Linked DNA regions of Homo sapiens: all the other regions are linked to region 2. Evidence: promoter capture Hi-C in 16 types of primary human blood cells and fetal thymus (Javierre and others, 2016). All regions are on one chromosome and are shown on one strand. Each heading gives the region's core, a stretch centred on a gene start or on the middle of the fragment in contact. The rest is flanking DNA. Distances are from core to core; before and after follow the strand shown. Region 1 overlaps KCNIP2 (potassium voltage-gated channel interacting protein 2). Region 2 holds the start of LDB1 (LIM domain binding 1). Region 3 overlaps OGA (O-GlcNAcase). Region 4 holds the start of NPM3 (nucleophosmin/nucleoplasmin 3).

Region 1 (6,762 bases), core at 3,141-5,640, 290 kb before region 2:
AGGCTTCCCTGGCCCACCTCGCCCAGCTCACCTCAAAACTGACCGAGCCATCATGGTTGGTGTCAAAGGCATTGAAGAGAAAAGTGGCATAGGTGCTGGAGTCTGCAGGGTGAGTGTGGAGAAGTTGGCTTCCACACAGGAGAGGACTTCCTCCCTCTAAGGAGCTCCCCATACCCCCCATCACCTTGGCATTCCCAGCTCCTCCAGAATCCCTCCCTCCCTCAGCCTAGAGAAGGACAACTGCTTCCCCTTGGGCCTTGTCCCCTCACCTCCTTGAGGAAAGAACTGGGAGTAAATCTGCTTGAAGTTCTCCTCATTGACAATTCCGCTGGGACATTCCTGGAAGGAGAGGGCACCAGGCTGAGGGCAGAGACAAAATCCCCTTCCGTTCACCGCCCCCACCCTCCATGGCCCAAGACTCCCAGGGAGGGGGATAATCTTCAAGCCTCCAGAGGACTCACCACGTGGCTCATGTGATGGGAGGGAAGACTTCTTTCCCAGTGCACAAATAAAAAACATGGAACGAAACTGACAGTCTACAGGCGCCACTTCCGTTCTGGCCCCGCCCCAGAACCTCCAGCTAGAAGTTCAGTCTCAGGGCCTTGCCTCCCTTCCGCCCACACCTCAAGCATCCAAGCCATGCTTTCTGGGAAGCTGTGGACCGGCTTGGGTCCTCCTGTCCCACCCTCGCTGAGTTTGGCCTCGCCTTGCACTCACGTTCTTGAAGCCCCGGTACAGGACCTGCAACTCCTTGCGCGTGAATTTGGTTTGCTCCTGCAGCTGCTCCAGACCCTCAGGCCGGTGACACACGGTGGACAATTCAAATTCATCGTCCACGCTGTCTGCGGGAGCGGTGAGGACAGCCGCGCCTCAGGCCCAGCCTCCGCGACCCCTCTTCAAATCACTGCCCCATTCACCCCCTCCCCGCCCCCCGGTCCCATCCGATGCCGGAGACCAGGCTGCCAGTTCCCTGGGCCCCGAGCCAAGGACACTGAGGTAAGGAGAAAAGATGATGGCCATCTTCGAGGTCTATCAGCGGGCCAAGGCCTGGCCTGGCCCCAGAGCCAGGGATCCGACTCAGTGCTCGCCCCGCGGCCCTCGATCCCTCGTTGGAGGGGAAGGCCCCCAGCCGCATCTTCGTTTTAGAAAGGGAGGAGTGGGAAAAGCCAGTTCAAGAGGGGGCGTCTGAGGGTCAGAGCTCCGGGCCTTCGGGGACCAACTCAGATCCGCCCAGCCCCAGCCTTGCCCCGCCCAAACCCTCCCCTCGTCCCACCCAGCCCCTCCCCTCGCCCCGCCCAGCCCCATCTATCCCAGCCATGCCTGAGCCATGCCCCGCCCAGCTCAGCCAACCTCCATCCAGACCCCACCCCCGGCCCCATCTCAATCCTGCCCCGCCCCCAACGTCCAGCCCCCAGGCAAGTGCCCCCCACCCCAAGATGGCAAAGCCGCCCTGCCCCGCCCCGCCCCCACCAGGAGCGTAAGTCACCTGGGTCCAGCAGGCGGGGTCTGTGGGGGCGGAGGGAGGCTGGGGCGGCTAATGCTGAAGGGAGCGAACTGTCACCGAGAAAGCGGAAGACCCGGCCAACTGCAGACACACACCTGGCCCCTCACACTCAGAGCAAACCTCACAACCCAGCCCGTGCAAAGGCACACCCAACCAGCACAGACACACACGAAACGGACCCCATGCACACAAGCTTGCGGGACTCACGCCTGTCCTTTTCCGAATCCACCCCCGTGTGGGACCCATCTAAGTCCAACACAACAGCATGCTCAAATAACTACAAAGCGGGCCTTTATGGTTTGCAAAATGCAGTATGATCCTATGAGGTGGGCAAGGCCCAACTGAGGAAATGGAGACCTAGAGACAAAGCGAGGTCACTCAACTGGAGATCACTCAGCAGGGGACCAGGCTGGCACAGAAAACCCAAATACCCTGGCGTCTGGAGGAGGGCAGGCGCCATCCTCTACACCTGTCACCATCCTGTCGGGGCATAGGCAACACACATCAGGGGTCCAAAACACGGTGGGGAAGGGGGCGGCCGCACGGAGTTGAAGACACTAACCCAGCTAAGCCACATACAGACCCTCACGGCCGCCTGGTCTACACAGGCCGCCACAGCTACACAGGCTCAGGCCTCAGCCTGGTCACAATGGTCACACCCACACTCTCGGGTCCCACAGTTTTGCGGGAGCGGTGACACACACCCGCTCCCAACTGACCACGCCCACACACGCTGGCTTCAGCCGCACACGCACACAGTAGCCACGCCCCCTTATGCTCCAGCCTTGCCAGCACCCGCCCTCGCCACGCTGGTCACGCCCACACACACACACACACACACACACACACGCACGCAGGCCTGGGGCACGCCCCTCCCCCACACGCAGGCGTGCGGCACGCCTCCCCATACACACACACACGCGCGCGGGCCTGGGGCACGCCCTCCACACACATGCAGGGGTAGGGCACGCCCCCCCACACACACACGCCGGCCTGGGGCACGCTCGCGCGCACATGCACACACATACACACGCACAGGCCTGGGGCAGGCCCCACCCCCACACACGCAGGCCTGGGGCACGCCCCCCCACACATGCAGGCCTGGAGCATGCGCACACTCGCAGGCCTGGGGCACACGCGCACACACTCATGCACAGACACGCACGCACACATCGAGCCCCGCCCCCGGAAGCACATGAGAGGCACTTGCTTTCACTGACTGAGGGCAGGGCTTGGGGCCCGCAGCACGGCAGCAGCTTGAGGAATCGCTGCTTCAGCGCTTTTTTAGTGGGCCCTGGAGGGTGGCCTGGGAAGAGAGAAGACCCCAGGAAGGCACATTAACTCCCATTGTCCCTCTGTTCCCTGTCCCCTCCCCGCCAGTCACAAATCAACCCCATCTGGGGACCGGGCTGGGGGAGGAATTAAGGGGAGGAAAGGAATGGCAAGGGTGGTTGGAATCGGGTTAGGGGAGCCCAGTGAGTCCATAGAGGTGAGGCTCAGGCACTTGGTTTAATGGGACGTGGCCGGTGACAGCGAGGCGGCAAGGATGAGGTGGCAGTGGCCTCAGTGTCTTTGCTGACCTAGTACCCTTGGCTCAAGTGCCATGGCTGGACCTCTCAGGATGATGTCCAACCCAAGGATTGCCTGGGTAAGAACACCTCTCTCATACACACACCTACAGTGACAGGCGTGTATAGTGACATGTAGAACAATACATCACAGTGATGGGTGCCAGTGACAGCTTGATATCCAGTAACTCACACCTGATGGCGTAATATGCATGCTCACACACACACACACAATGACCTGCTAACTCCTTAACACAAACATATACAAATGTGACCTAAGTAAAACAGGATGCATACACATGGAGACCCATATAGGCCATCTCACACACAGCATGATCAAACCACACAAGAACACACAATGCCTCTGGGACATCATGACATGTGAGTCTACAAAGAACACTATGACATTGTGACCTTATAACATTATGAGACATATCAAGGTTGTCATGACACATATCCATATCATACTGTGACCTGGGTCCCCATGGCACCCAGATATCTAAGGCTGTACCTCAATACCTCACCCACAGAGGCTTCATTTTTCCTGGGTACACCCACTTTTCTTTCCTGTAACCCCTCCTCATTCCAAGGTGCCCAGAATCTTTCTGCCAAAGGGCAGGGTTCCTCATCAGCTAACTCATCTACCCTAAACTGTGGCCCCTTCACAGTCTCTTCCAGTATGGCTTGCTCTTTGAGGGTGAAATAATAGTAAACTTTGTGGCAATAAGAGATCTTGGAGGCGAGTATTCTGGTGTATTGTGGGGCTATCCATGGCCCACTGATCATGGCTCCCCTTCCCCTCTTCTCCCTTATTTCTGCACATGCTCTACAGCTCTAATTGCACCCCCAGAGGACCCTCAGTGTTACTGTGTGTGTGTGTGTGTGTGTGTGTGTGTGTGTGTGTGTGTGTGTCTGTGTCTCCCAGCTGCACTGCATCCAGATTCCTGGATCAGATCCCACTGGATCTGACACAGTGACTAAAGTTGGCCTCAGTCCATTCCTGGAGGGGTCCAACTTCCTTTAGTTAAAGGTTACTCCCCCTCCATATACCCCACCCTCCCAATCCAGGCTTCACCCTCCAGATCAGGCCCTGTTCTCAGGAGGTGACTGGGTGAGTAACCACCTCCTCTCCTTCAACACATCCTTACCTCCCTCCCACCCCAGGAGCCATGGAGAGGTGGGAGGGAGGCAGTGGGCCAGGCAGGGGGATCGATGGCATTCCTGGCCTCTGGCCCAGGGCTCCATTAGCCTGGACTCTAGTTTCCCAAAGCTGGATTGCGCCTGGGGCCTCCAATGGTGTAGTTGCCCGACTCGGGGGTGGCTCTCCTGCCCCCCACCCCAGCCCCCTACCTGCTTCTAAGCCTCTGTCTCCTCTAAAGGTGAGAACAGAATGGCTGCCTTCAGCCCAAGACTCCTGGGATTTCCAGATGCCCTCTCTTCCCCCTTTCCCATCTAAAAGGAATGGCAAGTTAGAGCTCAATCAACTTCACCTTTTCCAGATTGAATGAGAACAAGCTCAGCCCAGCTGTCCCAGTTTATCTAGGTCCAACTCCCTGTTCCCCACTCCACCCCAATAAATGCAGCAGAGGATGGAGGGTGAGCTAGGAGTTTTCTGCTCTTACTGAACCCTAGAGCAGGCAATTCATGCACCTTCCTCTTGTTCCCAGTTTCCTTCATATTTTTCCAGTTCTTCCAGGTATCTACCCTGCAGTCCTCCATCATGGTTCTAGTCTGTCTTCCTGTCCCTGGTGGTACTGGGGAACAGCCATGCTACGGAGTTACACAGTTCTAGCCGTGAAGAGGAGGGAGAGGTCAAAACTCCCAAGGGGGAGGCAGAAGTGCTCCCCACTCCACCCCAATATTACTCTCCCTACTGACTTTGGGGTGGGCTGGGGAGGGGAGTTGATTTTCCACTCCCAATGTCTAGGCCCTGGAGATCACTCTGCACTTGGATCCTGATAGGAGCTTGGAGAGGCAAGGGGACTTGGGAAGCAGGGTCCCTGATCTGATCCACTCCTCATCCCCAATCATAGCTGGGCTATAAATGTCTCCTTCACAATGTTCACACTCTTCCCTCCAGAACCCACCTCCTCCCAAGCCTTGGGTATGGAGCTGGTATATCCTCAGGAAATTCTGGAAACAGCCACATGCACAACCTGATACCCAGAGGCTCAGCCACATACTGTGCCACTCAGGCCTGGCCACATCCACCTTCTCACAAAGCCACATGCCCTGTCACTCTCACACATACAGTCATATCCCTGTCCCATACACAGGCTCACAGTTACACACTTTGTACTCTCTCACATACAGGAACACAAAGTCACACCCTGTGTCTCTCACACACTATGCCCACACACCCCATAAGCTACACTGCACAGATGGAGGTGTGGAGAGGATGCACAGGCACCGTGGTGGGCCCCTGACTCCAAAAAGGACCCCCCAGAAATCCGTTGTTATCTCAGGATCCCTAGAACCTCCCTCCTCTACTCTAGACACTCCTTCCCTATCTCCAGACCCCTCCTGGTATCGCCCAGAATCCCCTCACCTCCTCATCTCCACACCCCAGTCCTCCCACACTGCACCCCTCATCACCTCCTGACACCTTGGTCCCCCAGATTCCCTCCTCCCTCCATATCTACTCCTTGAGGCCTCCTCTTCACCCCTCCCAGATGTTGTATCCCCCAAGCACCCCTACTCACCTCCCAGATCCCTGTGCCATCACTCACCTGCTCATCCCTGCCCCAGTCATGAAGACAGACAAACACCCTCCCTAGTGCTGTGGGGCAGCTGCCCCACCAGCCAGCAGCTCAGACATGCCAGGACACCTGGATTACCTTCCAAGGAGACAGGCTCAAAGAGGCCAAACTGCTCCAGGACCTTGACAAACAGAGCGAGGACCACGAGCACAGCAACCATCTCCAGCCCTTCCAGGTTCATGGTGGGCCTGGGGCATGGCCCCTACAGGGCCCAGGTTCAGATACGCCGGTTCACCGCCTCACACCACCTCCCCCTCAGACTCCCCAGCCTGAGTAGGACTGCCTGCAGCCTCCCTCCCACTCTCCCTCCCAGGATCTCCTTCCTCTCCCCCATCACCCCGCCTCTGCCCCACAAGCCTCCCAACCACAGCCGCCGCCTCTTCCTCTTCGCAGGGCCACCTCAGCCTTTGGACTGGCACCTCCTTGGGAACTTTTGGCCAAGATATGGGCCAGAGGGAGGGAGCAGTGACCCGCCTCTGTCCCTGAGAAGTGCTTCCCCTAGACATCCTGTGGCTACTCTGTGCCAAAGGGAAGGGGCAGAGGGAGGAGCTGAGCTTAGGGAGAAGGCAGGGAAGGGCAGGGTGTATGTGCATGAGAAACCACCATCTGCACATGTATAAGTAATCAGATGCATGGGTCAGAATATGTTGTGGTGGCCAGGTGTTTTCCTGTGTGTATATTCCTGTGTTTGTCAGTATGGCAGTGCATATGTCTCCTCTTATGTGTGTCTTTGTGTGCTTACACGTGACTGTGCACCTGTCACAGAGGTGTGTGTTTGGCGTATGGTTATGCATTTTGACTCTTGCGTATATGGGTATGTGAGCTGGGTGTCTATGGTCTGCATGTGTAGGAGTGTGTTGAAGTATTTGTGAGTGTGCATGGGGAGTGAGGTTCCTGTGTTTTAGTAGGGTTGTAGGATGTGGGTCTGAAG
Region 2 (7,557 bases), core at 3,646-6,145:
CAGACACACATTCTGACATCAGACTGTAAACACTGATTGGAGGAAGGGGGACACTCCAGGCTTCCCTGCCCCCAACCCAGCTAAATTCCAAGCCTTGACTTAGATCCCCCTTAACAGGAAGCCCCCTTCCCCACCACCACTGAAGACAAGTGGGTGCCAGGGAAAGAGGCATTGTCAGAGCTAGGGAAAGCCAACTTGGCCATCCAAGGGTCCCCAGAAGGAGCTTAGTTTGCTGCTGAATCCTCCCCACCACCCCAGAAAAAAAAACGTGTGGTTAGTGGATAGGACCTGTTCTCCCATCCAGCAGGGCATCCCAAGGGAGCAGATATTTCTATTTTTTTTCCTAAGGTAATTTTGTTGTAGCAGGAGGGAATATTTCTAAAACTTGGGTAGTGGGCCAGACCTTACTCGTGGACAAATAGGAAAAGGAAAATACATAGTACACACACACACACACAAACACACACACACACACGGGAAGGGGGAGCACGAACCTTCTATTTCCTTCTTTGCAATTTGAGTGTCTGTTTCTCTACTTCCTGTCTCCTACCCCCAACTATATTCACACATAACTCCAAGGACAGGATTTCTTATGACATACTCACTAGTTAACTGTGCAGTAATATTGCACCTGGCTCTGTGAACATCTTCCACATAAATAACACATCTCACTTTCACATAAATCACTACCTGATACACATTTCAACCTGTGATATATCTTTTTTCCAAGACGGAGTCTCGCTCTGTTGCTTAGGCTGGAGTGCAGTGGCGCGATCTCGGCTCACTGCAACCTCCAGCTCCTGGGTTCAAGCGATTCTCCTGCCTCAGCCTCCTGAGTAGCTGAGATTACAGGTGCATGCCACCACACCCAGCTAATTTTTGTATTTTTAGTAGAGACAGGTTTCACTATGTTGGCCAGGCTGGTCTCGAACGCCTGACCTCAGGTGATCCACCCACCTTGGCCTCCCAAAGTGCTAGTATTACAGATGTGAGCCACCGCGTCTGGCCATCAACCTGTGATATATCTCAAATCCTAAATATACCCAAATCCTGGATATATACACACACACACAGTCTAAGTCATACACACTGGGACCTATGACACGCATCCTGACCTCAATACACACACCAAAACTGTGTTATAACCCCTAAACCTGTGACAGCCTATCACATACACACCCCGATCATTTATTATGCAAGGACTTAACCTATAAATCACCCTCTCTGAAGCCTGCGTACCATTCCTCATCACAGCCTGGCCATAGAATAAACCCCAGCTTTCACAAACATACTGAAATCTATAACATTCAGCCAGACCCTGCAACATACAGCCTATCACCAGGACTTAAGACACTCCCACTGACTCCCAAATTTACAGCTTAACTCTGGGGTAGTCCCACTTCTCCCCCACTGCCTTTAAACTTTCCAAAGTGCATTCACAGGCAGTACCTCAAGAGATCCTCATAGCACATAGGGCCAAATATCCTAACAGTGAGATCCTAACAGAACCCACTGAGACAGGATGACCAGGGTGGGCTGGGGGGTGGGGGGGTTGAACCCTGCACTTCTAAACCCACCAGATACAAGCCAAGCCCTGCAGCCATTCCTACTCCCTTCCCCCTCCAGGCCTCAAATCACTGTCCTCATGGGGAGGGGGAAATGTGCTCTGGCTTTTGCCTCCAGCCCAGAGCTCAGAACCCCACACCCACCCTGTCTCCTCAGACAGGAGGGACTACAAGGGCCCTCCAGTCTCGCTGTGGGGTGGAGGGGCCCCTAAATGCCAAGATGTATCGACTGGCAAACCATTCAAAACAGGCCTTCTAGTTATTCTCTAGCAAGTCTGCTCCTTTCTCTGCTCTGACCAGATTTACCCAGTTGCACAGGGGCAGAACAGGTCCAGCTAAAAAGAGCAAGTCTGAGTTAGAAGGCCTTAGAATTGGTGGTGAGGTGGAGGGAGCAGCAAATAATGACAAAGATGATGAGGGAAAGTACTCCTCCTGGAGGTGGGGACTCAAAGGACAGCAGCCAGCCCCAGCCCACAGGATGAGGTACCAGCACTGCCCCCTGCCCGGGCCCCTGGGGCTCCCTGACCCAGGCCTCCAGTGTGCCTGCCCCCCTTCCTTTGTCTGTGCCCGGCCTCCCGTTGGCCTGGCGCTCTGCCATCCTCCTCTCCTGGCTCCCAGCCGCCACCACTGCTGCCTCCTCCCCTCCCCCTACTCCTCCCTGCCTTAACCCTTCTGAGCCACATGCTGCCCCAGACAGGCCCTGGCCCCCTCAGCCTCTTGCTCAGGGTGATGCCCCTTAGTCAGAGGCTCTCCCTGCTCCCAGCCATTCCAGCCCCAGAAGCTGGTCCTCACCCCAGGAGCAATATGGGTGTTGGGCATGTGTATGTGTGTATCTTGTGGTGCTTCTGCGTGTGCATGTGTGTGGGTCTGTGTGCGCTCTGGCTTCCCTCAGTCACATGTGTGGGGCATGTGCTGTCTCTGCCGGGCTGGGGGAGGAGGAGGAGCCCGGAGACAGCAGAACACAAAGGAGAGACTCAGACAGGCAGGCAGGCAGGCGGCAGGCGGCCTGCCAGGGCGCCTCAGCCCTCACCCCAGGGCTGCTCAAGGTGGGGGAAATCTTTGGGCCTGGACTGCTACATGCTGCCATGCCTTCCTTGTGTTCAAGCATGTGCTCCCCCATCCAAGCAAGCTGCAAGCCAGGTCCCCTCTCTAACCTCAACTGCTACTATTCCCCACCTCCAGTCTACTCTGAAGCCCTCCCCATGTGGTTCTCCTTGAAGTCTAACCTCCATCCACCCTCTTTGGCATCAATCTATAAGACTTCTTCATGATCTGGAAAAAGACTCCCCACTCTTCCCTATCTTTTGCCCTCTCTCCCTCAGTCAGACCACCAGACACAAAAGGAACATGCCTTCTGGGGCATTGACTGAAGTTGTCTTCCCACCCACCCACAAACCCCTGGGCTTGGGCCCTCTTCCTGTTCCCATGCTGCTCCCAGAGACTAAGAAGAAGAGATTTTCTCTCTCCTCCCACTGGACCCAGGCACCCTGCCCCAACTTCAGGGCCAACCTCCCATCCACCTCCAGCCTGACAACCCCTCCATACATACATACCCGCTTACCCACTATTTGTAGGAACTAAGAATCACAATTTAAGACTCATCCCTCTAGCTTGTTCAGATCCTTAGTTTAACTGCTCTGCTCATGTGTGTTGATGGAGGGTCAGGGCCCTGGGGTGGGCTAAGAACATGATGGATCTGAAAGGGGTACCCAGCATGGGTCAATTATAAAGGAGAAAATCCACAACATAAACATGTACACCAAGCTGGTAGAAAGAGGGACGACGGGGCCAGACAGGATTCCAGCTTGGCAAGCTCTTCCCTCTCCTCTCCCCAACCCTCTGCAGCAGGAGCCAGTGGTTCCCATACTCGGATATTCTAGGATTGTTAGGTTCTCTTATTCCTCCTTCTGGGACCCATGCCCCTTAGACATCAGCCTCAGCAGGCACCTGAAGTGTGTGCCCAGCCCAGCTTGGCCTGGGTCACATGATTTTCAAGGAAGCTTCCGCACTGGCAGCTTCCCTTGGGGATTTGTGGGGGAGTGGTGGGTGTCCAGCTGTGAAGTATGTAGCCAAAGCGGGCTACATTCAGGGACACTGACTTCCAGGAGAAAGCTGACTCCAGTCTGGGGCAGGAGGGCCAATTCCAGGACCCAGAGTCCCGGGGATGGAGACAGACAGTGTGCCGTGAGGCCCTCTGTAGACTACCTCTCCAGTCGCATGGCTTCTCTCTTTCCTCCTGGCAGTGAGGTAGACGCCCTCCGCCCCCCCCACCTGCCCCCCAGGAAAAAAACTCAGACCTAGGCTATCCCTGGCAAGAGCTGATATGTTTTGGGGAGGCAGGGATCTGAGCCTGGGTCCTCTCTCAAGTTCTCAGTTTTGGGTCAAGTATTGCTCCCCCAGCTTACCTCTCCACAAATCACTCTATTTCCTAGCCTGCCCTCCCACTAGGGCGGAGATGCCAGACCCAAGGGTCCAATTATCTGGCACCTCTTAGGAGTACCTCCGGTGCCTCAGGAGGGCCAACCTTCCCTGGCAACAGGCAGGAAAAGTTGAAGGTGGGGGGCAAGATGGGCCGCAATCAATACCTCCCTGCAAACAGGGTCCTCAGAAACAGCATGGGGGGGATGTCACAGGATAGGTAAGAGGCAATGGGCAGCAGGGAAGGGGGGGCAGCCCAAACCAGCCAATCACAACTCTATGGTGACCTGAGGGGGGGGGTCAAAAGTCCAGAGTCACTTCTGATTGGCTAACAACCTGGAATTCTGAGAATTTCAGCCCCCCCCAAACCTCTCCCCAATTAGCCTACCCCCAAAAAAACATACACATAAGCCACCCCCAGCGTCTCCTCCCCGTGTTTCTGGGCTGCTGCGCATTTACACAGTTGGGGAAAACGCTACCCGCCAGCCTGAGGCCCCGCGTAGCCCTTCCAGCCCCCGGCTTCCCCCATGCCATCGACGCCCCCCACACAAGTTCTCGCCAAACACGGGGTGAGGGGTCCGCAGGGACGGCTGGGCAGGAAGGGGCCGAGTGGCCGCACGCCCCACTCACCAGGACAGGCACAGCCCACTGACATCTTCACATCGCCCGCCTCTGGGGGCCCAGCCGAGTCACGGTGCCCGCCCCTCGCGGGGACAGGCCGGGCATGAGCCGCCGCCGCCGCCCGCGGCCCCCGCTGCGCTCGCCGCCGGCCCGGCCCGGCCTCGGCCCGGTGCGGGCGGCCCCTGGCTGCGGCGAGGGGCCTGTCAGGCGCGGAGCAGACAGGAAGGAAGCCAGGCAGGAAGGCGAGCGGCCTCTGCGTGTGTGCGCGCGGGTGTGAGTCCGCGGAGTGTGTGTCCGTGTGTGCGTGTGTGCGCGTGTGCGTGTGCGTGTCTGTGCGCTCCCGCCGCCGTCGCCGAGCGCCCCCCTCTCCGCCCTCGCGCTCGCGCTCCCTCGCGCCGGCGCCGGCTCCCCAGCCCAAGCCGGGCAGGGCCGGGCTTTATTAATATGCTAATTGTCCTGCTAGTGGGAGGGGAGAGCCGTGTCAAAGTGACCCGGGAGAGCGCGCAGCAAGCGACGACGTGCGTGCGCCGCGCGGCGGGCGGGCGGCGAGGGGCTGGGAGCGCTCGGGGAACGGCATGCATGTGACGCAGCTTTTAAAAAAGGAGACGGAGGCAGAGACCCCAGAGAGGGAGGGCGAAGGGGAGGGCTTGGAGGCGCAGCCGCGCGCTCGGTGTCCGTCCTCCGGGTGCCGCCGGATGGGGAGTCTGGCTGAGCCGGAGCGGGAGCCGCGGCTGGGGGAGGCGGAGCCGGGGTGGGCAGTGTGGTGTATCTCTCTCCACCCCGGGCCGCGCTCCGGGAGGGAAAAGGGACTGCAGACCCCCTGTCCGTGCTCCCTGCTGAGACGCCAGCCTTCTTCTGGAGGCCCCTTGTTTCGCGTCCCTACCCTAGGCTGGATGGGTAAAGAAGCATTCTCTTAATTCTTGTAGCAACCCCTCAACTCACCCCTTCCCTAAATTAACCACTCCTCCTTTGCCTGCGAAACCAGTTGGGACTAGAACTAAAAGGGTTAATTAAGTGGGGTCCCCGCCCTCCTCCGCCTAAGGGCTTGGGATCTGTGTTTTGCTGGGGGGAGGGGGCTGCGGAATGACCACCAGATTGGATTACGGAGGGGCGATAGGAGGCCATCCTTCCTTCTTGCAGACTGACGCATCAGTCAAGACACTCTCTTCCCTTCCCCCCTTTCTCCAGCCTTGGTGCCTTCACCTCCGTACCAACCGCCCAACCCCACCGCCTCCGACCCCCCTGCCTGGAAGCTGCTGTCCTTTGAGGGCTTCGGAGATGAGAACAGGAAACAGGCCCCTCCAGTGCCCCCTAACCCAGAGAGGCAGAGGCTGTGGGCCGTGGGGGGTTGGATGGGAGATGATGTGGATGGTCAATGTAAGGAACACTCCTTCCCCTGGGAGGAGCCTCCCAACCTTCAGTCACACTTCAAGGACTCCCCAACCCAGCCCTAGGAGGGGAGGGGCTCCATCTCCATCCCTTCCCAAAAGCTCAGCTTTAGCTGCCTCATAAACAGGAAATACCTATTAGCCAGGAGGAGGGAAGGGAGGGGAGCCGCCTGGAGTAGAGAGTTGACCCCCTCCCTCCTGGGGTCCCCAGCTGCTAGCTTTTCTTTCTTAAGTTTCAGTATGGGCTCCAGGGATAGACGATGGAGACTTGGACTAGTGTCTCCTCCCTAGGGCGTCTGGCCCTGACTGGGTAGGGGGTTCTCCTCTTTGTTACTTAGAGGGGTGTTGGTTGAGAAGGCTGTTTGGTTCCCTCACTCTGGCTCAGAGTCTGCACAGCTGGCTTGACTGGCTGGGGGAGGGTTACAAATGCGGAGGCTTAAAGTGTTTATGAGACCTCTTCTCTCCACCTTAGGTTTTTGCTGAGGGAGCATGAAATGATGGAACGGTGCAGAGTCCAGGGATTGAAAAGAAGGCCTGCCTAGGAATGGAGACCCTCCCCACCATGTGCTTAGGATGGGGGATAGGGGAGCTTGTACACTGTGGAGTCTCCCACCCCCAGGTTTCCCCATCTCCACCCCCACCAGGAGCAGAGAGGACCTGACTGAAGCCATCCACACTCACACAAGTATTTCCTTGGCAGCATCCCCTGCCTGAGTGCACCCCCTCCCTGCATTCTCCCAGACAAAGGTCAGCACTAGAGGGAGTAGAGAGAACATAAGGCAACAGAACACTGGCCCGAAATTGTGGATACCTAGGTTTGAACGCAAGATTCGCTCCTCAATACCTGAGTGATTTGAGACAACTGACCACCCCACCTGGGACACTAGCTTTATCCTCTGTAACCTATGGCTTGGTGAGTATCAAACTAGACAATGTACACCCAGTCACGTAGCCCAGTGTCAGCCAGGCAGTCCTGTAAATACGTGTTCTTTCTGCCCTTTTTTTTTTTTTTTTTTTAAGATTATCCAATTCCAAGAGAGGAGGGGGCTGGATTGGCAGGACAATTTGAGATGGTTTGGAGGAGGGGGAATACCTACCTTGACCTCCTTCTCTCTTTTCTGTCCATGAATTTGCCTTCCTCCAATCCTGTGACCACTTACGCCTAAGGCCACTCATTCCAAACAACTAGCTTGGTCAGATTCCATGCTGACCAACACAATGGTGATCATCTGGGTGGACAGGGGGACTACAACCCACCCTATAAAGGTCTTTGCCTCCTGTGAATCTGAGATTTCCCTCTCCTAGATTACACATGTGGAAGGTAGAAGCTTAGGAAGGAAGAAAAAACTGCCTTACTTGAGCATGCACTAATGCCAGGCACTGCCCTAGGCCTTTTACACTTGCCGACTCATTTACCTTTCATGAGGACCTTTGGAAGAAGGTGCTATTACCTCCATTGAACAAGTAGGAAAACTGAAGTTCAGAGATGATAATAAATTTGAACTTGCCTGTAAAACACTGTTCTCCCTCTTCTTCACCTACTAGTTAATGCTTCCTTAACACCT
Region 3 (6,765 bases), core at 3,934-6,433, 300 kb before region 2:
GTCTCGAACTCCTGGCCTCAAGTGATCCGCCTGCCTTAGCCTCTTACAGTGTTGGGATTGCAGGCATGAGCCATGGTACTGGATCTTGCTTTTTTTTTTTGTTTTGCCATCTCTGAACAGCTGGAATTCCTAACTAAATAAACCTACACATAACTACTTTATAATATGAAAGAAAGAAAATGCTTTCTTAAGAATCAGGGTAGGCCAGGCCCAATGGCTCATGCCTGTAACCCCAGGACTTTGGGAGGCCAGGCAGGAGGACTGCCTGAGGTCAGGAGTTTGAGACCAGCCTGGTCAACATTGTGAAACCCCATCTCTACTAAAAATACAAAAATTAGCCAGGCGTGGTGGCGCATACTTGTAATCCCAACTACTAGGGAGGCTGAGGCAGGAGAATTGCTTGAACCCTGGAGGCAGAGGTTGCAGTGAGCCAAGATCGCACCACTGCACCCCAGTCTGGACGACACAGCAAGACTCCATCTCAAAAAATGAAAAAAAATGAAAAAAAAAAAAAAAAAAAAAAAAAATGAATCACACCTGTAATCCCAGCACTTTGAGAGGCCACGGCAAGTTGACTGCTTGAGTTCAGGAGTTTGAGACCAGCACAGGCAACATGGCAAACCCCTCTCTCTACAAAATATACAAAAATTAGCTGGGTGTGGTGACCCGCGCTTGTAGTCCCAGCTACTTGGGGGACTGAGGCGGGAGGATTGCTTGAGCCGGGGAGATCAAAATTGCAGTGAGTCACTGCACTCCAGCCTGGGTAACAAAGTGACAAACGCTGTCTCCAAAAAAAGAAAAAGAAAAAGAACCAGAGTTAAGTCATGGCCTTAACAATCTTGACCTGTTTCTATCTATGGGAAAAACATTAATTATAGATTTTAACCTTTTAAAATTATCAATTGACAATTTTCCTAAATCAACTTAACTACTACTAGTATATACTATAAGACATATTTTTGAATAATTTTCAGTAGTATCTCAAGATAGTCATTTTTACTCTATTTTGATTATTGATCACATTAAGTTTCATTACCAGCACCACCAGAAAGTAATTAAGTTGAAGGCACACTTAAATAGAGTAGTAAACCACAACACTAGATGGAGATGGGGTAAGCTGTAATTGCTTCTTTGTAATTCAAGAAAACTTTCAGCCTTCTGTGCCTTGGCTGGGCTCTGTAACCAAATATCTTGTTAGCTATATGCGTATACCATTTAATTTCAAGTACAAAAATGTTTCACCATTTACAAGTTCCCAAAGAAAAGCACCTCTCTAATTTGGCGGTTCAATGCTATACTACTTTTTATCAATTTTATGTAACCAACTCAACGTTAAGTATACCCATAGCAGGCCGGCCGGGCACAGGAGCTCAAGCCTGTAATCCCAGCACTTTGGGAGGCTGAGGCAGCAGAATCTCTTGAACTCGGGAGGGCGAGGTTTGCAGTTAGCCGAGATCGCACCACTGCACTCCAGCCTGGGGGACAGAGCAAGACTCTGTCTCAAAAAACAAAACAAAACAAAACAAAACCCAAAGACAGCCTATTAATGGCTTCCCACTTTCCTGGACTAGGGTTTAAGGACCAGTAACTGCTGACAAGGCCAAGCCATACTAGAGCCTGAAGCAAAAGGAACAATCAGTAGTGCTGATCCTGTCTTTACCTAAAATTTTAGCATTGTGTACATCATGAATTTCTGCATTAATTTTGGTTTTTTAAAAAAATTGCATAAAATATTATTTATGTTGATTACTTTTTGGGGGTCCCTTAAAATTTGCACCCAAGGTACGTGCCTCACTTGCCTTGCCCTGGGCCTAGCCCAGCTCCAGCACTTCTTTGCCCAGTGGCCCACTGTTTAATCCACTGGCAGAAGTAAGCAGCACAATCTATGACCACAGAACAGATGGAGTCAGCCTAGCACGCCCATGATATCACACATATGGTCATGACCTTGCTAGCGCAGAGCACTCTTTCAATCTCAGCTAACTGAATAGTTACCAGATAGAAGAAAAGGAAACTACCTACAAAATAAAAATAAAATGTCATAAAATTCTTGTACAACTACATTTAAAATATAACCGTTTTCTTCACAGATTTTGAATTTATGGATAAAAAGAAAAAGATTACCAGCTTCCTCCACTGAATACATCTCTCGCCAAAACATCCTATGTTTGTAGTCATCTTTTGGGGCATACAAGTATGTATTTAATTCCCATTTCTGGAGCCTTAAGGAGAAAGAAAATTACATATGTATAAACAGGCAACATTCATAGGCTGTCAATCTCCATTTCCCTCTTCTTGGAGCATCTCCATCTCATACAAAGCTAATATTCTATGACAGTAGCTTTTAACCTTTTTGTAATCAGTGGAATTTAAAAAAATTAAGTATTACAATGTATGCCAACATACAAAACACTCTTAAAAAACACAACAGCTCTGGGTAAGGTGAAGCCCAAAACTTATTCAGCTCCCCAGGAAAAGTTTGAAAATCAAAGGCCTAGGTGAAGAAAAAAGGGACCAAGGTAAAATAACTTCTGCAATTGAGAAACCATCAAAATGCACCTGGGCTATTCACTGTTAGTATTTCTTCAAACAAAAGAAAATGTTAAGAGTTTAAGGTTCTCCTCTCTCCTTCATATAATGAAGATTTACCTTCTAAAGAGTTCTTTTCTCTGTTCCATAACCCAAGGTCTTCCATAAAATCCTAGATTCAAAGTAAGAATGAAATTATATTCAGTTTTAAAATGTGGTAAGCTTTATTGAGAAAAGCAAGTTACAAAACATATAATACAATCCTATTTTGTAAAAAGCATAAAATACACCAAATCGGAAGGATATTTAATAAAATACTAAGGTTCCTTTAATCTTTGGGTGGTGACGTTACAAGGTGACTTTTATTCCATTTTTGCTTAGGTAATTTTTTTTATTTTTTCTACCATGACATTAGTTACTTAGGTGATAGTTATTTTAAAACAAACATCTATCATCTTTCCACTGTTGATAAAGTCCAAATATATTTAATTCCAATTTTTTAAGAGATCTCAATCTTATAATGGGGAACGGCAGCAATGTAATACAAGCTGCCAACAGTAACAATTACTTCCTAGAATGATAGTAAAACTGCTTTAGAAAGGGTGAGGGGAGGCCGGGTGAGGTGACCCACGCCTGTAATCCCAGCACTTTGGGAGGCTGAGGCAGGTAGATCACTTGAGGTCAGGAGTTCCAGACCCAGCCTGGCCAACATGGTGAAACCATGTCTCTACTAAAAATACAAAAATTAGCCAGGTATGGTGGCAAATGCCTGTAATCCCAGCTATTTGGGAGGCTGAGAAACAACAATCACTTGAACCTGGGAGACGGACTTGCAGTGAGCCGAGACTGCGTCACTGCACTACAGCCTGGGCTACAGAGCAAGACTCCATCTCAAACAACAACAACAAAAGGGTGAGGGGAGATAAACAGGTAAAGCAATTAAAAACAAATCAGAGATAGGATTAGGAAAGAATCTGACTTAATTTTATGATCGTGCTCCTCTTTTTTAAAAAAAGTTCCTGGCCAGGACTGGAATTCCAGTTACTTGGGAGGCTAGGGCAGGAGAACTGCTTGAATCCAGGAGGCGGAGGCTGCGGTGAGCCAAGATCCGCGCCATTGCATTCCAGCCTAGGTGACAGAGCAAAACTCTCTCTCTCAAAAAAAGTTCCACATACAATGATATAATCAAAGGGACCAAAAAATGCCTGAAACCACATTCCCAAGAAATTCAACAGCCTAACTGGCCCAAACAACAAACTCTCACGCAATCTTAATTACAGAGCAAAGATCTGAACAAATGAAAATTCAAGAATATTACTTCTGGTCCTTAAACGGAAAGGAATAAACAAAGAAAACTCAAGAATGTCCCCAGAGTATCCTCTAAGAGGACAAAACACTAGTTATGCACACACTGCAGAAAACAAACTCGCAGACCGATAACCTAAATGGTTGAATAAGCATCAAACTGGTATCTGGAACTCCCTAGTGTGCTCATCACAGCTCAAACCACACACTTTACATCTTGTCTAACCTTTACTTTCCACTTGTCTCAGTCTAATCATCAGTAAGAGATAAGGACAGCCTCTCAAGAGTACCATGAAGAAGGTTAATAAAAGCATTCTGAACACAAAATGTTCTACATAAACCCACACAATCTACATAAGAGACTAGTCTAAAACAAATTTCTGCAATGTATTTTAGCTCCAATCTCTAGGCAGAATGACTCCTCTGCACCACAAAAAGGACAATGACAGACCAAATTAAAATTCATTACATACCAATGTATAACTGTAGCACTTTCATCTGGACAATCTAATGTTAGCCTCTCACAAGTGATACAAAATATTCTTTTTTTTTTTTCTCAGGCGGAATCTCACTCTGTCGCCCAGGCTGGAGTGCAGTGGCACTATCTCGGCTCAATGCAATCTACGCCTCCAACTCCCGGGTTCAAGCGATTCTCCTGTCTCAGCCTCCCGAGTAGTTGGGATTACAGGAGCCCGCCACCACGCCCGGCTAATTTTTTCTATTTTTAGTAGAGACAGGGTTTCGCCATGTTGGCCAGGCTAGTATCGATCTCCTGACCTCGTGATCCGCCCGCCTCGGCCTCCCAAAGTGCTGGGATTACAGGCGTGAGCCACCGCGCCCGGCCAATATAAAATATTCTTGATCAGGCAGACCTATACAAGTCTTTAGCATCCCTACGGCACTTAGCATTATCATTTTTTTTTTAAGGAGTAGGCATTAAACATCCTTTCAGAGTTGCTCCAATATAAAAAAAGACTTTTCAAATGTCTAGCTTAATTAAACATTTTAATCTTTAGAAACCCTACCTTGGCTCTTTTGAGAGTCAGGTTCATGGTTTCGGTTGACTGGCACCACAAAGAGGAAGCAATGCTGTTAATGTAAGTTAAAAACCAAGAGAGTTTTGTGATGGAAAGAAAACAAAAAAGAAATCCTAGCAGTAACTATAGTATTTCTATGCTCATTCATTTTACGGCTGGTGCCAACCAAGAGGTATCAAAAAGAGAGAAAAAAAAAAAAAAAAAAAAAAAAAAAGCCAGGCGCGGTAGTTCACGCCTGTAATCTTAGCACTTTGGAAGACCGAGGCGGGCGGACTGCCTGAGCTCCGTAGGTGGAAACCTGCCTGGGCAACACGGTGAAACCCGTTTCTACTAAAATACAAAAAATTAGCCGGGCCCGTGTCTGCAGTCCCAGCTACTTGGGAGGGTGAGGGAGGAGAATTGCTCGAACCCGGGAGGCGGAGGTTGCAGTGAGCCGCGATCACGCCACTGCACTCCAGCCTGGGCGACAGAGCGAGACTCCGTCTCCCAAAACAAAAACAACAAAACACACAAAAAATCAGTGCTGGCTCAGGTGCTCAGTCACTAAGAAAATATACAAGGGCACGGGAGGGAGGAGGAATAAACGAGAGAATGGCAGACAACTCTGTTCTTTAAATAGGAAGAATCGCCTTTTAATGCTATTCTAAACAAACGAATTTAAACCAAATGAGTTTTCTCCTTTTATAACTGAAGGTATAATGGACTGGCAAGTTTCCTTAGACTCATTCCAGTCTAGCTCCGAAATTTCCCAGCACTCTCTCATCCCCACTCCAAGATCTTTGATAACAAAAACCAGATTCTTTTTCTAAAATCTCCCTGCACTCAAGCCAATAAATACAACGATATAAGTCACACAATGCAATCATTTTTGATGAATACTATATAGCAGTTTTCCATTCTGTAATCCCCCAAATTCTGCAAGACAGTTAACTTCGCTGAACTCTTTCATGCCTTACTGTAGCAGCAAAGTAGCCTGTTATGGTCTGTACCATAACCACCACCCATTTTTCGAAAGAATACTCTAATTTATATGGTGAAAAAAAACAGAAAAGCTGATGTTCTCAACGTCGAGAGCAATCCTTTTTCCATACCTTTTTGGTTTTTTAAATATATATATTTTTTACCCTTATCCACGCCATTACATACGAGAGAGATATAAAACAGACATCTAGGAAACTCTGAATCGGCCAAAATACTTCAGAAAATTCAAATACATGCTGTAACTGCGGAAAGACTAATAATGTAACCGATTCGTGCCTCTACAGAGCTGCAAGGTGGACTATCTGTCCATTCTCATCCAGAAACTGAAACAAGCATCTGGTAATTTTCCCTCACTACCAAAAAGTCCATCGTTCTTTTCGACTGTAAATGGGAAAAAAGGCGAGAAGGGCATTTTTAAAGCCGCTTCTGCGGTCACTAAATTCCAATTACGCATCTCAGATACTTCGAGAATCTGTGATTAAAGCCAAAGTTTCATCCCTCGAGAGCAAAGTACAGTAGCTGGGAAAGAGGGCAATTTTCTAAGTTGCAAATGAATCTTTGCGGGGGTGGGGGGAAGCAACAAAAATATTCTAAGCCAAGTGGAACTTGAAATACTATAGGCCAAACGTGCTTCTCTTCACTCCAGAAGTACAAGCACGTCAGTGTGGGCCGATTTTCCACAAAGGGTGGTGACAGAAGCACTACACATATTTTTTCACTGGAACCAGACAACCCTAGGGAATAAGATCCCAAGGTACAAAGAAGTAGAACTCAGAGGCTAACAGAACACCAGGCTCTTAACCACCGCCTCCTTAGGAGGTGGCCTGGCTCCAAGCCCAAGACGGGTGGGGTCAGACTTGTGAGTGGCCAGGGGGGAATTCGACGCCGTCTTAAGACGTGCAAGGAGATTCGC
Region 4 (6,779 bases), core at 2,079-4,578, 340 kb before region 2:
GCAAGGCAACTGGGGCCCAGGCCCCAGGTCCTAGCCCAGGGCCATGAGGGTAGAGGATCCCACAGTTCTCCACCCTCCCCCAGGCCCAGGGCCACGCTGGGTGCTTCCACAGTGCCACCTGGCGGTCCCTAGGGAAACATCACCCAGCACAGGAAGAAGCCACACAAGAGCTGCAAAAACTCCACACCACTTTATTTCAACCTTTATCCAAAAATGTAAAAACTATTAAAAATGTGTAGCTCTGAGCTTCAGGCACTAACCTCCAATTCTCACAGGCAGGTGGGAAGGGAGGCCCCGGGCATGGTGAAAATCAGAAAACCACGGCTGTGTGGAGCACAGGCCCTCTCCTAGCACCAAAGACCCAAGTCCCTCCCACCCAACCCCCACCCAAGCTCTCCTCTTCAAGGAAGAAATATTTACAATTGTTGAAACTTGTCAGGGAACAGGGTGCATGGCGGTGCATGGCACATGGAGCTGACCTGAAAAGAGGAAACAAGGAATCAGCATTTAGGCCCTCACCTGCTTCTCCTGCCCCTTCCCAGAGCCTGCTAGGCACTTCTCCCCGCAACTCACCTAGGAGGGCTAGGGCCTGCCCCCCTGCTTTTTGGCAGGAAGGATGGGGCACAGCTCAACTTCTTCCTCATCACTGTCCTCTTCCTCTTCCTCGCTCTCCTCCTCAGAAACATCATTGCTCATCGTAACTGGTGGACACACAAGCAGTAGAAGGATGGGGTGTTAAGACCAGACCGTTTCACACCGCATGCCATTTCTTCACGCCGTGGTGTTAGGCTTACAGGGACCATGACCTCCCAGTGCTTATGGGCTAGGTGGGAAGAACCTCAGACCCTAAACTGGGTCACAAAGAGCCAAAGGAGTCTTCATTATTGGAGCTGGAGAAGTTGGGCCATGTTCCATGGAGGAGGTAGGCTTGAGTAGACGGAAAGGAGAGGGCATGTCATGCACAGGGCACAGCGTGGAGGGCACACAGACCTGTACAGGGCTGCACTGGGAGATGAGGGTGGGATGGGGCAGGAGTGCGGAGTGGGGGAAGCCTGATGGGAGAGTCCACTGGAAGCAAAGGAGAGGGCCCTCCCCTCTTCTCACCAATCTGGTGCCGCCCAGTGATCCGCACAGGGCCAGAGCCCGACTTCAGGCGGAAGGTTACAGGTGGTTGGAGCTGGAAGTCATCCAGACTGAGCTGGGAGGAAGACAAGGATGAAGGCCTGGCCCACTCCTAGCCCACCCCACACTGTAATGAGTGCTAACGTCCTCAATCCCCTCACCACCACCACCACCACCACCAAGGCAGAGCTGGGGAACTCACCATGGGTTGGCAGGACAGCTTGAGGTTGGCCACAGGGACTGCGATCTCCTGATGGTCATGGTTCCGGGCCACAACTTCTACCACATTACACTCGTCTTTGGCTCCCTCGGTGAGGCAGAGCTGGGAACGGTACACAGGGCCTCAGGGTCTCCTCAAGTGAGGGTTGACACCACAACTAAAGGCATCTACCCTAGCACCTGCCCAGCCTCAGAGGTCCCGGTTCACCTGGCCAGGGGAGCCGCCCATGCCGGGGGGTTAGGCTGAGGATGTGTCTCCAAGTAAAGGGGATCCGGAGGTTGGGTAGAGACCTATATTGCCTGCCTGGGCTTATTCATTAAAACCCCACTCCCCTGCCCCTCACCATGGTTAGTGCCAGCACGTGCTCCGCATCATCCTCTTCCTCTACCTTAAAGGTGAAGGAGCGGGTGTGGCCGGAGAGCTCACAGCCTGGTAGAAATAACAGTGAGTATGCCTGAGCGTGTGTACGGGGCTGGGCAGCGGGGGATGTCACCAACCCGCCGTCACGTGTAACCTTGGGCGGACGGGTCATTTACACGTCCACCTCCGTCTCTTCTCTCAGAACACCTGGGACGCTCTGCCGTGGGCCCCGCCCAACACATCTGGGGCAGGGATCTCGCCACCCCCTTTGGCTGTGCGTGCGAGGCCCCCTCTCCTGCGGGAACAGCGAAGCAGCCCTCCGCCCACACCCACGCCTTGAAACCCTCCGCATTCCCGCCTCACATCCCTACCTCTTACCGCCCCAGTACCACCCTCAGCCTCTCCCTTCACTAATACCGAAGAAAAAACTGTCCATAGTGACCGGGGCCGGGACCCGTAGGCCCCCGACACCCCCGGCCCGCGTTCGGCTCTCCTGACTCAAAAACGCTAAGGCAGCTGCAGTACCGGCGGCCATGCTGTAAGAGCCTTCTTCAAACTCCGCCCCCGACACGCACAAAGCCGGGGACCCTCGGCCAGTTCCGGCCCCGCCCATTAAAGGAGACGCACAGTCCTGGAAAAGAAAAGGCGCCGAGACCCCGCAGCCCTACCCGGAGCCCGCAGCTTCTGCTCATATTTTATCAAGACCGAAGAGAAAGGAAGTAACATCACAGAAGAATGGATTTGGGGTTTATGTTAACATCCTTGCTCATTTCCACGACCATGAGGGTGTCCACTTCCCCAAGCTCCTCGCTCTGTGTCGGAAGAGTGTCTCCCACTCTTCCAACCCAGGGTAAGCTTTCGTTAAAGGAGTTATAGATATAAAAATGTAAACCCTTCTTACTCCTCCCAGCAAAGGTGGGGTTCAGGGCAGTGCTTTTCTGCTACAAGCAAAGGAAATGCACTCAGATTGTCTTTGCCTCAAGAGAGCCGAGGAGCCTTAGGAATTTCCATCCCAACACGTCTGTCCTGTCTGTCCTCTCGGCTAAGCCTCTCTTAATTCTTCCTGCTCTAAAGACCCCGCAACTTGCTATGCCTTCACTGAGACTTAGCTGCTGGCACTTGCTAGCAGAGGACTAGTTAGCTCATGTGTGTTGGCTGTTCCTGGCCCACCCACGCTTTTTGAGCTTTTAATTCCAAATCATCCAGGAGTATCTTTGCGCCGTGGATTATTTTGTCAGTTTATGCTACTCGCGCCATCTTTCGCCTTTTAAGAATCAGGCAAACTGTGTGCTTTCTATCCTAATAGATGGCAAAACTCAAACTAGAGGCCCTATTTCACATCCAGGTTATAACTGTGGCAAGAGGGTGGGGTGGCTTGGCTAAAAACTAGTCTACTTTTCTTAGCTCTTGTCTTAATGAAAATCTGGAAGTCTTACTGGTGATGGAGGTAGGGGAGGGCTGCCTTCAAGATCCAATCTCTAACTTGGAACAGCTGTGGAGAGGAGAGAATACCTGCTTGTAGGTGAGGCATGAAAGAGGAGAAAAGGGAGGGGGCAGACAGGAAATAGATTCACACAATACAACACGACAAGCATTCACTTCAAGTTTTATTTTGCCTCTTGCATGGTCTTTTACAGTTCGTTTTCTACAGGAACTGAGCTCTGATCCAAACAATCAATAAAAATGTAATTCCAACCTTAATATTCATAACCAGGAAATAGCATAGCACTTCATGATCCTAGAGTGATGAAAGCAAGACCAGGGCATCTGTTTCACAGTCACCTGTGACCAGACCAGCCAACATGATTACTAAAAGCCAAGATAAAACCAAAAGCAAACTTGCTAAAAAATCCTGAATTCCATGAGGTTAACTCTGAAATCCTCCAAACAAAATGCTAGAATTGTCCACTAGTGTTAAGACGAGAAAACTGAGGAAAACTCAGCTGTCTTACTATCTGGTAAGAGTCTTCCCTTCATCTCAAGCCCTCAAAAATGCAAACTTGGTTCCAGCTTTACAACATACCATATCCTTCTATCGGTTAAAGGTTTCTAACCTAAAAACCTTCTCTCCTTTCTTCTCACCTATTTAGTGCATACTCAAAGGCTTTGGTTGGAAGTCACTAGGTACCACTAGGTACAATGCTTTAGGGCTCTCTCAAAGCCCACAATGGTGGAGTTCTGTGAAAGAAAACTTAAGTTTCTTTCTCTTTACCCCTCTCCCCTCACTCAGCTCAAAGTTAAACAGCTGATGCAAAACTACAGAGAAGCAAGATAACAAAATACTGTTATCAATCTATGGAGAAATCAGCCAGCCATGATGAAAAAATGAGTCCTGCCGACTATCTGCCAGCTTCATGCTCAGAACCCTTAAAAACACAGAATCTAAATTAAAATACATGAAGCTTTCACAATCCGGTTAAAGGAAAAAGGTAACTGTAAATAACTGGTTAAAGTGTGCTCATTCATTCAGAAATTAGATACAAACATGCAAGAATTAAAGACTCTGATTTAATAAAATCAGTAGTAACAGGTCTTGAGATTAAACAACTGACCTGAGGGCAAATGGGACCAATCAGTCCCTGAACCCTACCTGACATGTCAAATCCAACATTTCACATGCTGACCTAATATTGAGGTTAATTTCCAGAAGTAACTGCACTTTTCAACAGATTAAGTCCTACAAAATTAGGCTCTCGTACCCCAAATGGTCATGGCCTACGCCTAGGTGGGAGGCACTTTAAAAATAATAAAACTTCAAAAAGAACAAAAACAACCCCAAACCCAAAGACAAAAGTAAAGAAAATCCACTTTTCACTGGTTTACATTATTCAAAGTGCCATTCTGAACCAACACCCTTTCATTTATAGAGGAAAAAAATTTACAAAAACAGTAAACACAAAGGATAGTCAGGTTACAGCTAGTTTATATACAAAGAAATTTACAAGTTTGTCAATTGTAGGCTTTTGCCACAAACAAATGCACATTTGTCCCTACAAAGTACAACATGCCTGAACCAACAGTCATTACAGGAGACAATTGGCCACGGCTTTACAAAAAGCAGAATAACTGCCCCAAATTGAAATTATTTATTCAGCTTAAACTAATGCCACAACCATCCCACTTGGAATCACTCCACCCTGACACTTCTGAAACCCACTCTTTCTTTCTTTCATCTCTGCCATGTCCCCTAAGACTGAGAGGCATTTCACTCAATAAACCAAGGAAGATGACAGATGTTATCTTGATTACTCTCAGGTGAGAAACGCAACCACACTGGATGCAGAAAATAGTGCTGACTACATTTATTGAAGACTCTCTCCCTGTATAAGCCCATGTAAAAGGTCTCAGCACCTAACACAAGACTCAAAAAGGAAGCCCACATCTCTCTTTCATACAGGATTTGCTGCAATACTATATTCTTCCAACCAGTGAGTAGTCTCAAAGTGTGATGGGTGAGTTTTACATAGTCTTCTTTGTTTCGAATCCAATTGGCTGATTTGTTACCATTCTAGAGGCTGAACTGTATGAAGACCTCAACTACCATTCACAAGGTGCAGTTAAGAGACTTTTGGACAGTTCACAGTGTCAACAAATGTCACAGGCTCCGACCAAGTATAACCACATCCTTTGGAAATCCTTCCATTTTTGCAATTTCAAAACATCCTAACTTGCTGTAAAATTCCAGAATTCTTTTATCATCTGGTCTCACTTCACAGAAAGCTCCCCGGGAGCCTAGAAATAAAACAAATATTCAAAACATAAATAAGTCACTTAATTAGTATAATTATAGATATAAAACTATAATCTTCGAGATGGTTAATATAAACAGGGCTTGTCTGTCTACACCAGCTCCTACATTTCACACAATTAAAAAAATTCATATTCAAAAAATTCAATAATGAGTGGCGTGAGCCACTGCACCCAGCTTCCCCCGCACCCGAGACAGAATCTTGCTCTGTTGGAGTCCAGTGGCAAGATCACGGCTCACTGCAACCTCCGCCTCCCGGCTTCAAGCAAGTCTCCTGCCTCAGCCTCCCGAGTAGCTGGGATTACAGGCGCCTGCCACCACTCTTAGTAGAGACAGGGTTTCACCATGTTGGCCAGGCTGGTCTCGATCTCTTGACCTCATGATCCGCCCACTTCGGCCTCCCAAAGTGCTGCGTGAGCCACCGTGCCCGGCCTTTTTTTTTTTTTTTTTTAAATTAGGTAGAGATGGGGTCTCAGCCATATTGCTCAGGCTGGTCTCAAACTCCTGGACTCAAGTGATCCTCCCACTTCGGCCTCCCGAAGTGCTAGGATTACAAGCATGAGCCACTAAGCCCAACCAGCATTTCTCAATTATTAATACACATGCGATTCTTCACCACTAATTAATTCAGAAACCAAATCATAAAAGGTGGGAAAAGCAGTATAAATTTACAATTCACTTCTTTCCTTTTATATCCAAAAATATATAGTTCTTTCCCTATCTTGCCCAAATACCACCAACTCCACAAATATGTACTCACCATTAGCCTTCAGTGAAGACAGGAGGCAAGCCATCATGCTTTTGGCCACACTTGGGTCAGTTACTTTTTTGTGAATGTCCATCTTTATCAGAGAAGGGAAATTAGCAAGGAAAGTTTCTGGCAGTACTTCCTGTTCTTCATGGAAACTCAACATTATTTTCTGGAAAAATTAGAATCTCTTGACTTTCACAATAGTTACGCATTAGATATCTAACCCAACTACAGAACTTAGCAACAAGAAAGCAATATTTAATAACTCTTCCAGTCACTATGTAAATTATCTCACACAGGATTATCCTATAATTCTAGCTGAAGCATTTTCACTTTCTTTGAGACAGGATCTCCTTCTGTTGGCCAGGCTGGAGAGGGGCAGGCATTCTCCCTCGCGTGCACGCGCTCTCTCTCTCTCTCTCTCTCTTTCCCTATTTATATCGTCAGGGCTGGTCTCGAATTCCTGGGCTCGAGTGATCCTTCTATCTCGGCCTCCTGAAGTGCTAGAATTACAAGTGTGTGCTGCCGTGCCTGGCCACCGTTTTCACTTTTAAAAGCTTGGGCCAGAGATCAAGACC

Evidence for each region. The method cuts DNA at HindIII sites, captures the fragments that hold promoters and counts their contacts. A CHiCAGO score of 5 or more calls a contact.
Region 1: a fragment that was not itself captured here is called in contact with the fragment with the promoter of LDB1 in region 2 in 4 of 17 cell types (naive B cells, megakaryocytes, erythroblasts and 1 more); the score reaches 7.8 in naive B cells.
Region 3: a fragment that was not itself captured here is called in contact with the fragment with the promoter of LDB1 in region 2 in 13 of 17 cell types (erythroblasts, megakaryocytes, fetal thymus and 10 more); the score reaches 14.8 in erythroblasts.
Region 4: a fragment that was not itself captured here is called in contact with the fragment with the promoter of LDB1 in region 2 in 1 of 17 cell types (total B cells); the score reaches 5.6 in total B cells.

What each region holds. Positions count from the first base shown.
Region 1 is chr10:101,828,358-101,835,119 of GRCh38, forward strand. It overlaps KCNIP2 (potassium voltage-gated channel interacting protein 2), which reads right to left. Exons shown (of 10, transcript NM_173191.3): 2 at 2,715-2,810; 3 at 1,487-1,540; 4 at 718-842; 5 at 270-339; 6 at 32-102. It overlaps KCNIP2-AS1 (KCNIP2 antisense RNA 1), which reads left to right. Exons shown (of 3, transcript NR_045118.1): 3 at 1-532. Among named protein-coding and RNA genes, the nearest start is that of KCNIP2, 12 kb to the right of the region's middle. RefSeq lists enhancers at 1-428, 2,483-2,999 and silencers at 1,208-1,257, 1,378-1,477, 2,268-2,347. The HindIII fragment of the contact is 5,390 bases long and covers 1,696-6,762 here.
Region 2 is chr10:102,115,473-102,123,029 of GRCh38, forward strand. It overlaps LDB1 (LIM domain binding 1), which reads right to left and starts at 4,896. Exons shown (of 11, transcript NM_001113407.3): 1 at 4,614-4,896. The coding sequence starts at 4,638. It also overlaps a transcript of PPRC1 not described here. RefSeq lists enhancers at 1,672-2,374, 2,375-3,076, 4,782-5,533, 5,534-6,285, 6,286-7,035 and silencers at 1,963-2,202, 4,536-4,605, 4,696-4,775, 4,836-5,135, 5,156-5,285. The HindIII fragment of the contact is 3,755 bases long and covers 3,564-7,318 here.
Region 3 is chr10:101,810,906-101,817,670 of GRCh38, forward strand. OGA (O-GlcNAcase) reads right to left here. Exons shown (of 16, transcript NM_012215.5): 2 at 2,650-2,701; 3 at 2,125-2,222. Among named protein-coding and RNA genes, the nearest start is that of OGA, 4.2 kb to the right of the region's middle. The HindIII fragment of the contact is 4,868 bases long and covers 2,750-6,765 here.
Region 4 is chr10:101,781,154-101,787,932 of GRCh38, forward strand. NPM3 (nucleophosmin/nucleoplasmin 3) reads right to left here and starts at 2,293. Exons shown (of 6, transcript NM_006993.3): 1 at 2,120-2,293; 2 at 1,686-1,771; 3 at 1,325-1,444; 4 at 1,105-1,198; 5 at 574-701; 6 at 172-479. The coding sequence starts at 2,237. The coding sequence ends at 583. It overlaps OGA (O-GlcNAcase), which reads right to left. Exons shown (of 16, transcript NM_012215.5): 15 at 6,211-6,370; 16 at 3,297-5,434. The coding sequence ends at 5,298. RefSeq lists a promoter at 1-153 and enhancers at 1-120, 1-293, 1,221-1,860. The HindIII fragment of the contact is 1,547 bases long and covers 2,556-4,102 here.